Linked DNA regions of Homo sapiens: region 1 is linked to region 2. Evidence: promoter capture Hi-C in human tissues and cell types (Jung and others, 2019). All regions are on one chromosome and are shown on one strand. The core of a region is centred on a gene start or on the middle of the fragment in contact, and the rest is flanking DNA. Distances in the headings are between cores, read along the strand shown.

Region 1 (6,656 bases), core at 2,684-5,183, 120 kb after region 2:
CAGATGTGGTGCTTAGAACAGTGGCTGGTAGAGAATAAACACCATAAATATTAGCGATTTTTATTGTCGATCTTTCCCAAGGCTAGGCCAAGGGAATGTTCTTTCCCTGGAACTTGAATCTTAAGCAGAATGGCAAAAAGACAGAAATCCATTAGAGCTGATTTATTTGGGTAATTGTGCCCTAAAGAAACGGTTAATCAGTTCCTGCTCCCTGGATCCTAGGGCAGTCCTTGTTTCTGGTCCTTCTTGAATTTGAATCTTCAGCTGTTTATTTTTTCTGCACCCCACTTCCAACAAATGCCCCTTTTTTTGCCTCTTCCTCCTCCTCACTTTCCTCTTCACCTTTCTTCTCCTTTTTTTTCCTGTCCTCCTCCCTCAACCCCATCTTCTCTTCTTCCTCTTCCTTCTTTTTATTTTTTAGCTTAAAGTTGTTACATTTGGTTTCTGATGCTTGCTGCCAAAGAACTTTTACCGAGTCAGCATCCCTTGAAAATGGCCCCTCAGCCTTGGTTTAAATATCTTCATAAAACAGCAACCCCCTTTTAATTGGTAAACTCTTATTCTTAGAAAGTACTTCCTCACATTAGGCCAAAAAAATCTTTATAGGACTCTGACGCCAGAACGTTTGGATTTGGAGCCTGGCTCAATTGTTTACTTGCTACGTGGCTTGGACACGTTGTTTAACCTCTGTGCCTTGGTTTCCTCATCTGTAAAACAGAGGATAATAATAGTAACCACTTCATGGTATTGTTGTGAGGATTACATGTCATAACATTTGTAAAGAACAGTGCCTGATAAGAGTAAGTTAATGTGAGCCCTCTTCCTCCCCGTCCTCACTCAGATCCCAGTTCCATCCTTCTGAGCTGCCCAGAATAAGTCAAATCTTCCTTTTCATGCCAACTTTTTGAAAACCGAGATGCCATATTCATATCCCTCTTTCCCCCAGGCTCGATATGCCCTGCTTCCCCCTGACCCATCTGGAGACCTCTTCCCTGTGAGGCCAAGCCCTTCTTGGAAAGATCCAAACCTGTCTTCAACTTTCCTGCCTCTTTAGTTTACTAAAAGTGAAATACAAACAAGCATTTTATAAGGCTTTGTGTTAAAGTTTACCCAACTCACCCAGCCCTAGACACTCCAGACTCTTGGAGCCTATCCCACTGCCCAGGCCTGAGGGTAGAGCCTGGGGTCTGGAGGATGGCACAGGAAGGCATACGGGCAGAATGCAGGGGGCAAACCATTTCCCCTTCCCCTGGCCCGTTCCATCCAGGGTTGTGCAGAAGCTGACCAGACACATTTCCTGCACTTGGCTTGTCCTGCCCCAGACCTATGGCATGACTCTGTGCTAAGCTGTGTCTGGTTGTTGACATGCCAGTGACAAGGCTGAATAATTTCCACTCATAGGAAGAGGCTTCACTGCATGGAGAGCAAGAGTCTAGTTGATAATAACATCACTTGCCTGGCACATTGCAGCTTGGAACACATTTGTTCATCACAATATTTTAATGAATTTGTCACAGTCAGAAAGCCTTTTTACAAAAAGGGGCACCCTTTTTATACATGAGAACATTAAGGCTTGGAGACATTAAGGGACTTGCCCAGAATCACACAGCCACCAAGTGACGCAACTTCCATTGGAGTTGAGTTCAGTGTTTTTTGTGATGTGCTTGTTCTGAAGCCTTCTGCTGCTGTTTGATTATTCCTGTGACTATATCGGTTTGCCCTTGAGGCCGCAGGGCCTCCAGTGGCCCCCTTCTCAATGGTCACCACAGACACTTAAAAGCAGGTGCCCTGAGAGCCCTTGGACTTATAGACTTTCTGCTTATAAGTAGGGGAACTTTTGGATGAAGAGCCACAGCTTAATGAAAGACTCATTGTTTTGTAAGGCTGCAGGTGTGTCCTGGAGAGAAAGATAATAGACTGATAAATCGGAAGAATCATGTCTTAGGGAGAGTCAAGTTATATCTATTCATTCTAATGTTTTTGAAGCCCAAGGGAGCTTCTAACTGGGGGCTTATTCTTAACAGATTCTTGCAGAGACTTTAAGGAAATCTCTTCACCTTTCTTCCCCTTTTTGTTCCTGTCCTCCTCATCCCTCTCTTCACTTCTTTCTCTTCCTTTTCTTTTTCAGCTTAAAGTAGTTACAGTTGTTTTCTGATGCTTGCTGCCAAAGAACGTTTACTGAGTCAGCATCCCTTGAAAATGGCCCCTCAGCCTTGGTTTAAAAATCTCCATAAAACAGCATTCCCTTTTTTTGCTGGTCTCCATTTGGATTTTCTTGAATTCAGGGCTCCCAGGTGAAAGAATGGTCCAAGATTCTGAGGTGGAACACTGGTAGAGTGCCCTGCCATGCTCTGCCTTTGAGCAACTATGCATCCTTCACTTTCCAAGTCAGTAGGAGTAAAGTTACCCAGCCCTGGGCTCTACCTGCAATGCTGAAGAGACTAAAAGCAAGAAACAAGTGGCCAGAGAAATGATTTTACTTAGCACTGGGTGTGATCCAGGACACGCATACTGAGGAACCATCCTGGAAATCCCTGAAAACCGTAGGAGGATTCAGACTCATCCCCTTACTTGGCTCCCTGCTGCCTGCAGAACAAATTAATGTGGTTTACAAAGTTCTTAACAATCTGGCCCCAAACTCAGGATTCTTTGGAAACCAAACTCCCCCATCCTTTTTGGTCCAGCTGTGTAGAATTGAGTTAGGCAGAACTTGACTCTGGACCAGATCAAAGACTGGCTAAAACAGGGAAGAGGCACGGGAAGCACTGCTCCATAAGACATGTCCACCAGTGCCTTAATAGTTTACCATTGCCATGGCGATACCCAGAAGTTACTGCCTCTTTCCATGGCAATGACCCAGAAGTTTCACCCCCTTTCTAAAAATCTCTTAAATAACCTGCCCCTTAATTTGTATGTAATTAAAAGTGAGTGTAAATATGACTGTAGAACTGCCCTGAGCTCCTGCTGTCAGCGCACTGCCTGTGGGGTAGCCCCGTTCTGCAGGAGCCGTCACAGAGCTGTAACACTGCCACCTCCATAAAGCTATTTTCTTCTACCACTGGCTCACTCTTGAATTCTTTCTGGAGCAAAACCAAAAACCTTCCTGAGCTAAGGCCCCAGATTTGGGGCTCACCTCTCCTGCAAAAGAACTACTCTGTAGTCTTCCAAAATGCCATTGCCCATCTGTCCCATGGTGCCTGGGATGTACTTCTCCCACTTCCAGTTCTCTGTCTGAAACTTCTACTTATTTTGCAAGACATATCACAAATGTCGTCTCCTATGCGGAGCCTTTCCTGGCACTTTCATTCCTTTCTCAGTTCCCACAGCATTCTGATCGTAGCTCTATTGTAGCACTTCTCACATAGTCATATAATTTATTTTGTGGTTAAGTGCACAGATGTTGAAACTAGACTGCCTGGATTCAAATCCCAGATCTACCACTGACCAGCTTGGATAAGGTTTCTGTTCTTGATTTTTTACCTATGTTAAATATGGATACTAATTCTTATCTCCAAGAGTTTTGTAAGGGTTAAATGAGCAAACTCTGCTAAGCACTTAGACCACTGCCTGGCATTCTCTGTTAGCTCTCTATTATCTGTTTGCAGCCACCTGTCATGGTCCCTGCCTATTCAGGTCCACTGGAGCATCAACAATCATGTTTAGGCTGCTTGCAGGCCCACAGTTCATAAACCAGACCTGGAGGTAAATGGGAACTCCCTACACCCCCTTGTATGGAGGGTGAATAGATGCAGATGTCCATGGTTCCTAGTTTCTGGTTTCCATTCTATACTCTCCTGCGATCAGAGCTCCACCTCAATCCCTTTTACAGGCCATGTCAGCATGCATTGCCTAGCTCCCTCAATCCAGATAGATTCCTGGAAATCGCAGTATTATCATAGACTTGATGGTCTAAAACAAGGCAGCATTTTTATTCCAACTAGGTCTCCAGCTAGTCTTGTGGGATTCTAAGTTGGTGACATCACTCAGCTCTCAGAGGGGTCAGGGAGCATTGATATTTATAAAACCCCTAGGTTTTGATTTCTTAATTCAGATGCCATGTCTGAATCACTAGTATATCTAGTTCCTAGCACAGTCCCAAACTCAGTGGGTTTTTAAAATCAGTGGATACATGAATAAATGAATAAATAAATGGATCAGCTGTAAGTGGGCCATCCATTAACTTTGACACCCTCTGTGCATTCCCACAGTGTAGTGGTCAGTGTGTTTGACTCCAGCTGGGGTTTCTGTTACTGATGGCTGGTAGCATCCTAATTGAAACACACCTCCAAGTGTTGCTCATTTGTATTTTCCTTATTTGGAATACCCTTAAGTTTTCAATACCGCAGCACCATCTGGAATAAAAAATGGCCTAAGAATATCTCTCATGCTCCCCAGAGTGCTGTATAGGTAAAGAAAGGGAGGAGCTACAAGTGTAAATACAGTTGGGCACTTAAGACAAATTTCAACTTCTTCCAAGCTTTGGCTTGGTATGGAGATAACCAATTACTTAGAATCATAGAGATATTAAAATTTAAAAGTAGAAGGCACAGTTGATGTAGCTTAACCCAAGGGCACTCAATTCTTTAAGTGTTAGAGATAGGACCTGAGACCTGATTCCTGCATTTCCCTGGTCCCTCTCTGCCTCATCAGCTTTTGTCAGTTACACACGTCCTTCCCACCACAGGCAGAGCTGGTACTTCAATCCCAGGGTTGTGTGTGAATTCACAGAAACCAGAGCAGGATTGGAGGCATGAGGCACAGCTGGCTGTTCTGGGGTAACAGGCTTGTGGTGGTGGTGAGCTTTTGCAAAGTTTGGTTTAGCCCTTCAGGATTTGAACCTTTACCCCATTTACCCATAGAAATCTTCTCCCAAGATTCATGAGGGGTTTTCTCCGAACCTGTCAAGATTATTCTTATCTGCCCTAGTGTTTCACCACTCGCTCAGCACACTTCCTTTTGCGTCTTATGTGTATGGTAGAGAAGGGGTTGGTTGAATGGAGGAAGCTAGTATTTTTTGTTTTGTTTTGAATTGTTTTGTTCAGAAATTCTGCTTTTTCCCATGAGCTGTTTGCAAGGCTTTGAAAGGACAGCTCAGAATTACATGGAGTAACTTATTTGGGGCAGAGAAAGAAATGGGTTAACAGCAAGTTGCTTTGTCTTAGAAATTAAAAGGGCACCACTTACATTCAATATGGTGATATTTATATTCACCCAAAATTGAAGTGCTCAATAATAGGGCATTAAATGAATTTTGGTAAATCCAAGAGCAGGAAACTGTGTAACCCAGGTACTTAGCAAAGGGTGGAGGTGATATATATACCCTGACATTAGTCTAAAGAGTACTGCACAGATACTAGTCCTTGATAATTCTAGTGCAGTGGTAACATCCTTATGGAAAGAAAAGATACAAACACATTACATTGCCTTTGGGTGCCATTCTCTTTGACTACACTCCTGATAATCATTAAAAAGGTGAAGAAGATGTATTTCTATTGACATAGAAAACGTCTCTGACACATCGTTAAGTGAAAAAAAGCAGATTACCAAAAAGTGTTCATAATACAATTCCAATTTTTTAAAAACATTTATAAGTACAAAAATGTGGTAGAAAGCTATCAGTATTTTAATAGTACTTATATGTGATTTTATCTCATGTTTAGACTCTTCTATATTACCTACATTTTTACAATAATACGCTATTACTTTTTCTAATTAGGAAAAGACTGGAACAGTTTGAAAAATATAAAGCTTTCTTTCTGTGGTTGGTCTCGGATATTAGTTTATGAAAGGGACAATGCTGAGTGGGTCAGTCCTTGCATTAATAAAGTTAGGTGATCAATAAATATTATTTCCCTTCCCCATGAAGACAGGGAGACAGGAAGACGCCATCCTCATTGCAGGGATGGAGTGGAGACGCTTGAATCTGAAACTCTTCAGAGGGAGATATATTCCTGGAGTCCCCAGCCAGAACTTGGCATCATTCTCTCCCATCCAGAGACCATGTTAACTAGGTTGTTAGCTTCTCTAGTACTCTCAACACTGTAGTTGAGCAACATTATGCCTGAAATAAGCTTTTATGGGCTAGCCTGGGAAGCTAACTACTCTTTATAACATTATTTCTATGGGAAAACATGCTCCAAATTCCACACCACCAATTTACATTGAAGCTTTTAGGATGCAACTATTTTCAGTTTGGAGACCTGCTTACTTGCCCCCTCCCCTTTATTCACTAATTATTTGAAAAATCTCTATTATTTTGTAGTAGATTACAAACTGGTGAACAAGTCTTTTGGCTTATGCTTTATTTGTTAACCCAGCACACAGTCAAAGGGGTTTCAAGATCGGAGGGGTCTTAGAAATTGGCACCTAGTTACTGAATATTACTGCTCATTGATTGTCAAGCTGGCTGGAGTTGTCCAGGGATGGGGCAGTTATGCCAGGGTTCATGTCTCCCCCAGCACTCCTCCAGTCTCACTTCCCTTGTCCACACTGTTGGGAAAGGCATTAAGGAAATAATTCATTTCAGGGGCATGCACTCATTTACCTACCACATTTACAAACGTATTGCATTCAGGGACAGTTCCTGTAATCCTATAGCTCCTGTAGTATTTGGGACCATTTCAGGACCATCTAGAAATGGTGCTTAATAAATCCTT
Region 2 (7,751 bases), core at 3,235-5,734:
TATACTCAATGCCTGACATACAGCCCAGCACACAGTGAGAACTTGATAAGTATTTGTTAACTAAGTTGATTCCAACAAATAAGAAAACTGAAGGCCAGGCACAGTGGCTCATGCCTGTAATCCTAGAACTTTGGGAGGCCAGGGCAAGAGAATCACTTGAGCCCAGGAGATAGAGACTAGCCTGGGCAACACAGTGAGACCCCATCTCTACAAAAAACTTTAAAAACTAGCTGGGCTCGGTGGTGCATGCCTGTGTTCCCAGCTACTTGGGAGGCTGAGCCAGGAAGATTGCTTGAGCCTGGGAGGTCGAGGTTGCAGTGAACCCTGATATGTGCCACTATACTCCATCCTGGGCAACAGAGAAAGACCCTGTCTCAAAGGAAAAAGAAAAAAAAGAAAAAAGAAATCTGAGGCTCAGAGAGGCTAAATATATTGTCCAAGATTAGACAGCTAAATAGCAGCAGTTCTGTTTGCTTGATCACAAAGGCTGGGTTCTTCCCACTACACCATTGAGATAAACTGCCTGCAATCAAAGCTACACAATTCTTTGACTTCTGTGCTCTTAATTTATGTTTCCTCTTCTCTAGGTTGAAATCTGGAAACCCTTATTAATAGCTTTACACATTGAGGGCCGTATATTTTTATTATTACTCTTTTAAATCCAAAGAACAGAGAGAATGCTTTGGGAAGGAATCATGTCACAGGATGAGGAAGGTCTTCTAGGACACTTTTAGTGTCCTATGGAATGAAAATGTTTCAGGGTCTGTAACATATGGCTGTTTTAATAGAGTCAAAAATTTGGTCTATAGAAAAAATATCGTTAAACATGATAGTATATAATGCCTGTAGCACAGCAATGGCTAATGGAAATGGCATTGAGCTGACAAGGGGCTGGCTGCAACTGGGTCATTCATCCAGTGCAAACCTGTAACCTATAAAGAATGATGAGCAAAACTTCCACCTCAATGGAGAACAGTTGTTCCTGCAGCTTGAACATCTCTAGAGTTATAAGTTTACTCATCACTGCCCTCAGACCAGGGCAAGAGCCCATGTTAGAGGATCTTGCTCTGGGCTTCTTCTAGCCATGCCCCATGCTATAGGCCTAGGAACCTATGGGGCTAAAGGGATATGCCTATTGTTTTTTAATCACAGTGATATTTGTTAAACACAAAAGCCTATTTCCAACCTGTGATTTGGAGTCTGGCCAGACAGAACCTGGTGGCAGGATACTAATTGCAGGCATCTGCAATGTCCAGCCTGTGCTGTCAGGGCAGGCACAATAGCTGTTCGCTTCTTGTGGGAGAGCAGAGAGTGCTCCTCCTCTTGAGGCCTCATAAGCTCCCAATCAGGCAGGGCATCCTGCAGCAGCTTCTCTTCTCCTGAAAAAGTGACAGCAGCTGTGGCATCCCCAGTCATGGGTCTGGCATTGGGAAGAGTTCCTTGGAGAAATGGGTAATGGAGAGGGGGAAGGACCCAGCAGCTCGGAATCGGAACCAGCAACTCAATCCCAGCCACATGTATCTATTTTTAACTCTTCAGACTATAGTTAAGTCTAGTAATTGCCCTGGTAAGAGTGGTAGCCATTCCCATTGCCTTTTGGAAAATAGGTGGGAAACATCACAATCAGGTAAGCAGCCCAAGCATAAAGCTCACTGGTGGCAGAGCCAGGAAAAAGTTCATTTCTTATCAAATAGTTCATTCTAAAATTTATGTTAAAACAGCAATTTGAATAACTGTACTTCTATAAGATTTAGCTAATATCTTACTATCTTACTAATATCTTACTGAATCTTAACTATCTTGCTAATACTTACCCTCATTGATATATCAGTTCATTTTTGACAGTGTATTTCACTCACATACCCACATGAATGTGTGTGATGAGCACATGCTCTCAGTCCTGTATGTTAACCAATCTTGTTTTCCCCCCTTTAGTATCAAAAGGTTTTGGAGGGCAGGAACCATTTTGGCCTCATCTTTTGTGAACCATCACAACACAGAACAAAGCCCTTCACAGAGTGGGAGCTCCATAGACAGCAGTGCATGGTTCTAATAGTAATCCTTGTGAAATCTGAAATTCTCAATCCCCAAATTCCTGTAATATGAATACTAGAGACCAAGGAACTTCAGTCCTCTTGCTACAGCTAACAGCAGAAAAATTAAGAACTTGTAAAAAATGGTAAATAACAAAAAGGATAGTAAATTGATCCCCAACCAGCTGCTCTGAGACACAAAACTGCTTATTTTGTATGAGATCAAATATATAAACTGGAAGGCCAACAATTCTTGACAAGAGTGTCATGATACATGTTCATGACACAAGAAGTCGTTCCTGACCACTCATTAGTAATTTTGAAACCAAAGCCAAACAAGCCCATGTCTTTCTATACTCTAAGCCGCCATGCTAAGATTGTATTTTTTTTTAAATGTCTAGTTACAGTTTCTTGTGATAACTGAAGGAGAGAAACTGTAATTTAGGACACAATCTTTCCAACCCCATGATGTTGAAACAGGCCTACTGTGCTGTTAAGGAGAGACACTTTAGAGCTGCGAAGGGAAATGTATTGGTTTCCTGACTTCTAACAGTGAAAATTTAAAGGAAGTCAGATCAGAGAAGCAAAGCGTTCTGTGGGAGCAGGGAGAAATCTGAACCAAAGGAAGACTATTTCTCTTCTCTTTCTCAGAGATAATTCTCTGTTTTATTTTGCTTGTGAAAATTTAGTGAACAGACCTATTACAGATGGAAAATAAATGGATAGAGTTCAAGCCTCCAACCCCAGGGTGTCCATATATGGCCAGGAACATCCCACCAGAAAATGATGGCTAGAGGTAATGATTAAAATAACACCTTATGTTTGGGTATCCTTGATCTAAGTGATACATTTTCACGTATCTTATTTCAGTCCTCATAACAAGCTGTGAACTAGGCCAGTGGTTCTCAGACTTAGATTTCACAGACTAGTATAATAATAACAAACTAGTGTGACCAACATAAGGATACCAACTCCTTATTTTGCCAAACAAGGACATAAAAATAAGAGTTATTGGCTGGGCGTGGTGACTCATGCCTGTAATCCCAGCACTATGGGAGGCCGAGGTGGGAGGATCACTTGAGGTCAGGAGTTCAAGATCAGCCTGGCCAACAGGGTGAAACCCTATCTCTACTAAAAATACAAAAATTAGCTGGGCACGGTGGTGGGGCACCTGTAATCCCAGCTACTTGGGAGGCTGGGGCAGGAGAATTGCTTGAGCCCAGGAGGTGGAGGCTGCAGTGAGCTGAGATCACACCACTGCACTCCAGCCTGGGCAACACAGCGAGACTCTGTCTCAAAAAAAAAAAAAAAGAGTTATTAAATTACTAACTACAACTACAGTCTATTTTCATCATCATTTCATAAAAGGGGATTTTAACACCACAAAACTGGAGAGGACATAACTTCAGAATAAAAGACAAGCCTTTAAATTGAACACACTTAACTTGGTGAAACATTTACTACATTGTTAACTTTATCATTGTCACATTTTGGTCACAGGTTGTGGAAACCTTCATCTTGAGCTAGAACTGACAGATCCCCAGATGGATGTCTGAGAACCAGTGAACTTGGCATTATCAATCCCCATTACCAGACAAAAAGACAGGCTGGGAGGTGAAATGAGTCTCCAAGATGGGGGCTTAGCTAGTGAGGGCAGAGCTAGGCTGTGAGCCCTGGTCTTCTAGATCTAAGCCCATTACAGCATAGCCCTCCTCTGGTTTTGAAGAGGCAGAATAACACATATACATCCATTAATAAGTTATCCAAAGCGTTCAATGGCCACTTACCACTCTGGTTGGTAACCAGGTGGAAAGTGCCTCTTTTCTAGTTTCTAGAACAGCCACTAGCCAGCAGTTCTCATAGATAGACAACAGAACCTGCTCCTAGGAGGAATTTTATGGTCCTTAGCCAGATCCCTTCCTGTGCTCCATTAAATGCTCCAACATGGAAAATGCTGAGCACGAAGCCTCCGCTACCCCCACAGCATTCAGTAATTATGACTATTATTTCTATTGTAGAATTTGAGTGAAAAGGGCACAAAACTTTTTCATAAATATCAAATACTTGGTTTAGGTCCCTGTGGATTCCTGTAGACATGAAAAGAGCTTAAGAAGTCAAATTGTAGTTTGAGTTTGGACATCTCTGTTTCCCCATCCTGCTGATTATTCCAGCATTCCTCTCCCTTCCAAACCTCTGCCAGTTCTTAGGTCAACTTGAAGAGGGTTTTCAGAGTTGGAGTGTAAGTCTAGCCATCCCAGCCCAAGACTGAATCTTATTGGCAACCTTTTTCCTTTTGGAGAAGCCTATATATGGCCCTTAGATTAGGCTGAGAAAGAACAATTGGGGGGAAGGTTACAAACTAATATCACCCAAGGAAAACTTGCCAATACAAGGAGTGTCCCACGGAGAAATATGTGCTCTTTCTCTCTTGGCGCTCAGCAGCAAAATGGCAACTTTCGTCTCTTTCCTTTGCTGCCTAAAAGCCCACCTCCCACTTCTCTACCCCGCCCCTACTGTGCTGCACGACTGAGCAGATATGACTGGATTGGCCCTGATGGGTAGGTTTTACTGTCCAGCAATATTTTAAGCTCCCAGCCAGACAGCTTTTATGAAGGGAGGGATGTTTGGGAAACAATGGGAGTGAGAGAATGGGAGAGCTGTGTTGGGCACTGAGGGGAGGAGGATGGGGAAAGCTGATGTGTGAAAGCTTAGCTGGGGCTTCTGTGCCTCCCAAAGTTTCTTTTAGCAGCAGACTGGGCCTGTACATCAGTAAACCTTTGGCGTCTCTCCAGAGCGCATGAGCCTAGGGGCATTTTCCCAAGGCCTTATCATCAGCTGGGAGAATCTTAATGATGTAGGGACAGTAAGTGGTCAGTTGTGTGAATCCCTCTGCCCTGAGTCACACCAAGAGTGGTTGGTCCTTTCCAAAGGACCATATTTCATTTTTTATTGGTGGTTTGCTCTTGTCTCTCAAAGCCTTCAGCAGAATTGTGGATATTAGAGGCTGGGAAGTGTAGTGGCGGAAGGAAGGATGGGGAGCATGTTGCTAATAGATACAAAAGCACAGCTAGATAGGGGGAATGGGTTCTGGTGGTCTGCAGTGCTGTAGGGTGAATATGGTTAACATTAATTAATTAATTATTTTAATTTTTATATTTTTGTGTGTGTGTGAGACAGAGTCTCGCTCTGCCACCCAGGCTGGAGTGCAATGTCACGATCTTAGCTCACTGCAACCTCTGCCTCTCAGGTTCAAGTTATTCTCCTGCCTCAGCCTCCTGAGTAGCTGGGATAACAGACACCCACAACCACGCCCAGCTAATTTTTTTTTTTCTATTTTTAGTAGAGACGGGGTTTCACCATGTTGGCCAGGCTGGCCTCAGACTCCTGACCTCAGGCGATCTGCCCGCCTTGGCCTCCCCAAATGCTGGGATTACAAGCATGAGCGACCATGCCTGGCCGTTAACTATTTTATTGTATAGTCTCAAAAAGCTAGAGGAGAGGATTTTGATTGTTCCCAACAGAAAGAAATGATAAATGTTTGAGATGCTGAATATGCTAATTATCCTGATTTGATCATTACACATTGTATACATGTATTGAAATATCACTGTGTATCACAAATACGTACAATTATTATGTGTCAACTAAACATAAAAGGAAAGAGCTTTCTAAAAAGATCAAAACAATAAAAAAGAAACACAAACAAACCTTCAGCAGGGTGGTCTCCCTCTTTGAAAGGAGCCTTAACACTCCAAAGAATTCTGGTGCCATTTGTCAAAGTAATAGCCTTTCTCACCACGTTTCACTTATAATTACATATACTTTTGAGTAGCGGAAGTTCAATCAATGTCAGCTAACATTTTTAGACTTTAGTGCCTTCATCTGTTAAATGGGGATATGATGGTTTTGCTCACCAGGAGGCTCTTGGATTAAATTCTAATGTGGCTTAATGAGGAATGATGCTTGGAGGGCATGGACATATGCTCTCTGAGGCCCACTCCCGTCCCATCATCTGGGACTGACTATTGGTAGTATAAAAAATGGTTATTTTGACTACATTTCCAAACCAAAAATAGGGGCATTTTATCCTACAAGTTTATTCGTGAAAACAATGGAGCAAAAATAGTTGAAACTTAGATTGTTTTATGAAATCTGCAATGTATGATTACTAAATTGAAGACAACTTGGAGGGCAAACTAGACAAAAAAAATCTAAGCACTGGCTTCACCACCCCACCCCCCCTTCCTGTCCTTTCTGGTGTCATGGACATATTGCATTTTGATGGGGGCAGTTTGAAGGAGGATGGTACCAATGTTGTGTGAGTCCCCAATTCCATTTTAAATAAAATGGTCACTAGCCCAAAACCTTGTTTACTTTAGATGTCTGATTTCTTTTGAACTCCCAAGTTTGAGGGCCCACACTGACTGGGACAATGCCCTATAGCAAATCCTTCAGTTAAAAATAGATGGTCAAGGCTGATCCCTGCAATATCAATAAGGTAAGAAGTCAGAGGATGAGGGGAAAAAATCCAATCATTCTTTCTTTGGGAATATTCAGTACATGCTGATTCCTGAAGCTTGCGCTCTCCCTGATATAGTCCTATGAAGAGAAAAGAATCTACAAAGCTTCTCTTTAAAATGAAGTTCTCCCTATCCAAGGCTTCCCAGTCCAACTTGGCTAATGTAGTGGGTGGTGTCATCGCTCATCATCATTTTGTGAGAGATGGTAGTAGAGGATGCATTTGAATCCAGAAAAACGGGGCTGTCAACAAGGCTCTGAACCAGTTATAGTCTCTCGGATTTAGACAAATCTAGCTTTTCAATTTAGCACTTTCTTTGTTTTCTTACGCTGTTAACAAAGAAGATACTCCTCTACTCGTAGTACCCAATTGATTAAGTTATCTTTGTTATTGGTTCTTCTGTTTGTAGCTGGGAAGTCCTTGAAAATATAAACACTCAGTCGTGTATATCTTGGGGAAAGTTTTGAAAGAGATCGGGAAAGAGGCTCACCTTAGCTACCATTGAGAGATGACTTGTCTATTCCTACCAAGAATCACTTTCTCAGGTCTTTCAGAGGGATGTCTTCCCAGGGTGTCTGTATTGCATTATTTGAGATAAATAAGTAAATGTCTAGAATAGGAGACATAACCACATTCAAATGTAAGTTCCAATTTTATATTCTGTAATCTTATAGATTATTAGATTATTGACATTTTGGATAATCTAATGGTGGCATTCTCCTACCAGGGTTCGTTTTTCCTTTCTTTCTTTCTTTCTTTCTTTCTTTCTTTCTTTCTTTCTTTCTTTCTTTCTTTCTTTCTCTTTCTTTCTTTCTTTCTTTCTCTTTCTTTCTCTCTCTCTTCCTTTCTTTCTTTCCTTTCTTTCTCTCTCTCTCTTTTTCTTTCTTTTCTATTTTGAGACAAGGTCTTGCTTTGTCACCCAGGCTGGAGTGCAGTGGCCTGATATTGGCACACTGCAACCTCCACCTCTGGGCTCAAGCAATCCTCCCACCTCAGCCCCCCAAGTAGCTGGTACTACAGGCGCAGGCCACCACACCCAGCTAATTTTTGTATTTTTTGTAGAGATGGGGTTTTGCCGTATTGCCCAGGCTGGTCTCGAGCTCCTGAGCTCAAGCAATCTGCCTGCCTCAGCCTCCCAAAGTGCTGGGACTACGGGCATGAGCCACTGCACCTGGCCCAGGGTGCATTTCAAAAGCAAT

Evidence for each region. Contacts are between HindIII fragments. The study calls those that stand out against the background at their distance.
Region 1: a contact is called between a fragment that was not itself captured here and the fragment with the promoter of GJA8 in region 2, in 2 of the 25 tissues and cell types used here (IMR-90 fibroblasts and aorta).

Annotation. Positions count from the first base shown.
Region 1 is chr1:147,782,659-147,789,314 of GRCh38, reverse strand. LOC102723321 (a long non-coding RNA gene) reads right to left here. Exons shown (of 3, transcript XR_922079.4): 3 at 1-707. Among named protein-coding and RNA genes, the nearest start is that of GJA5, 25 kb to the right of the region's middle. The HindIII fragment of the contact is 7,229 bases long and covers 319-6,656 here.
Region 2 is chr1:147,899,528-147,907,278 of GRCh38, reverse strand. It overlaps GJA8 (gap junction protein alpha 8), which reads right to left and starts at 4,484. Exons shown (of 2, transcript NM_005267.5): 1 at 4,418-4,484. The HindIII fragment of the contact is 8,467 bases long and covers 1-5,675 here.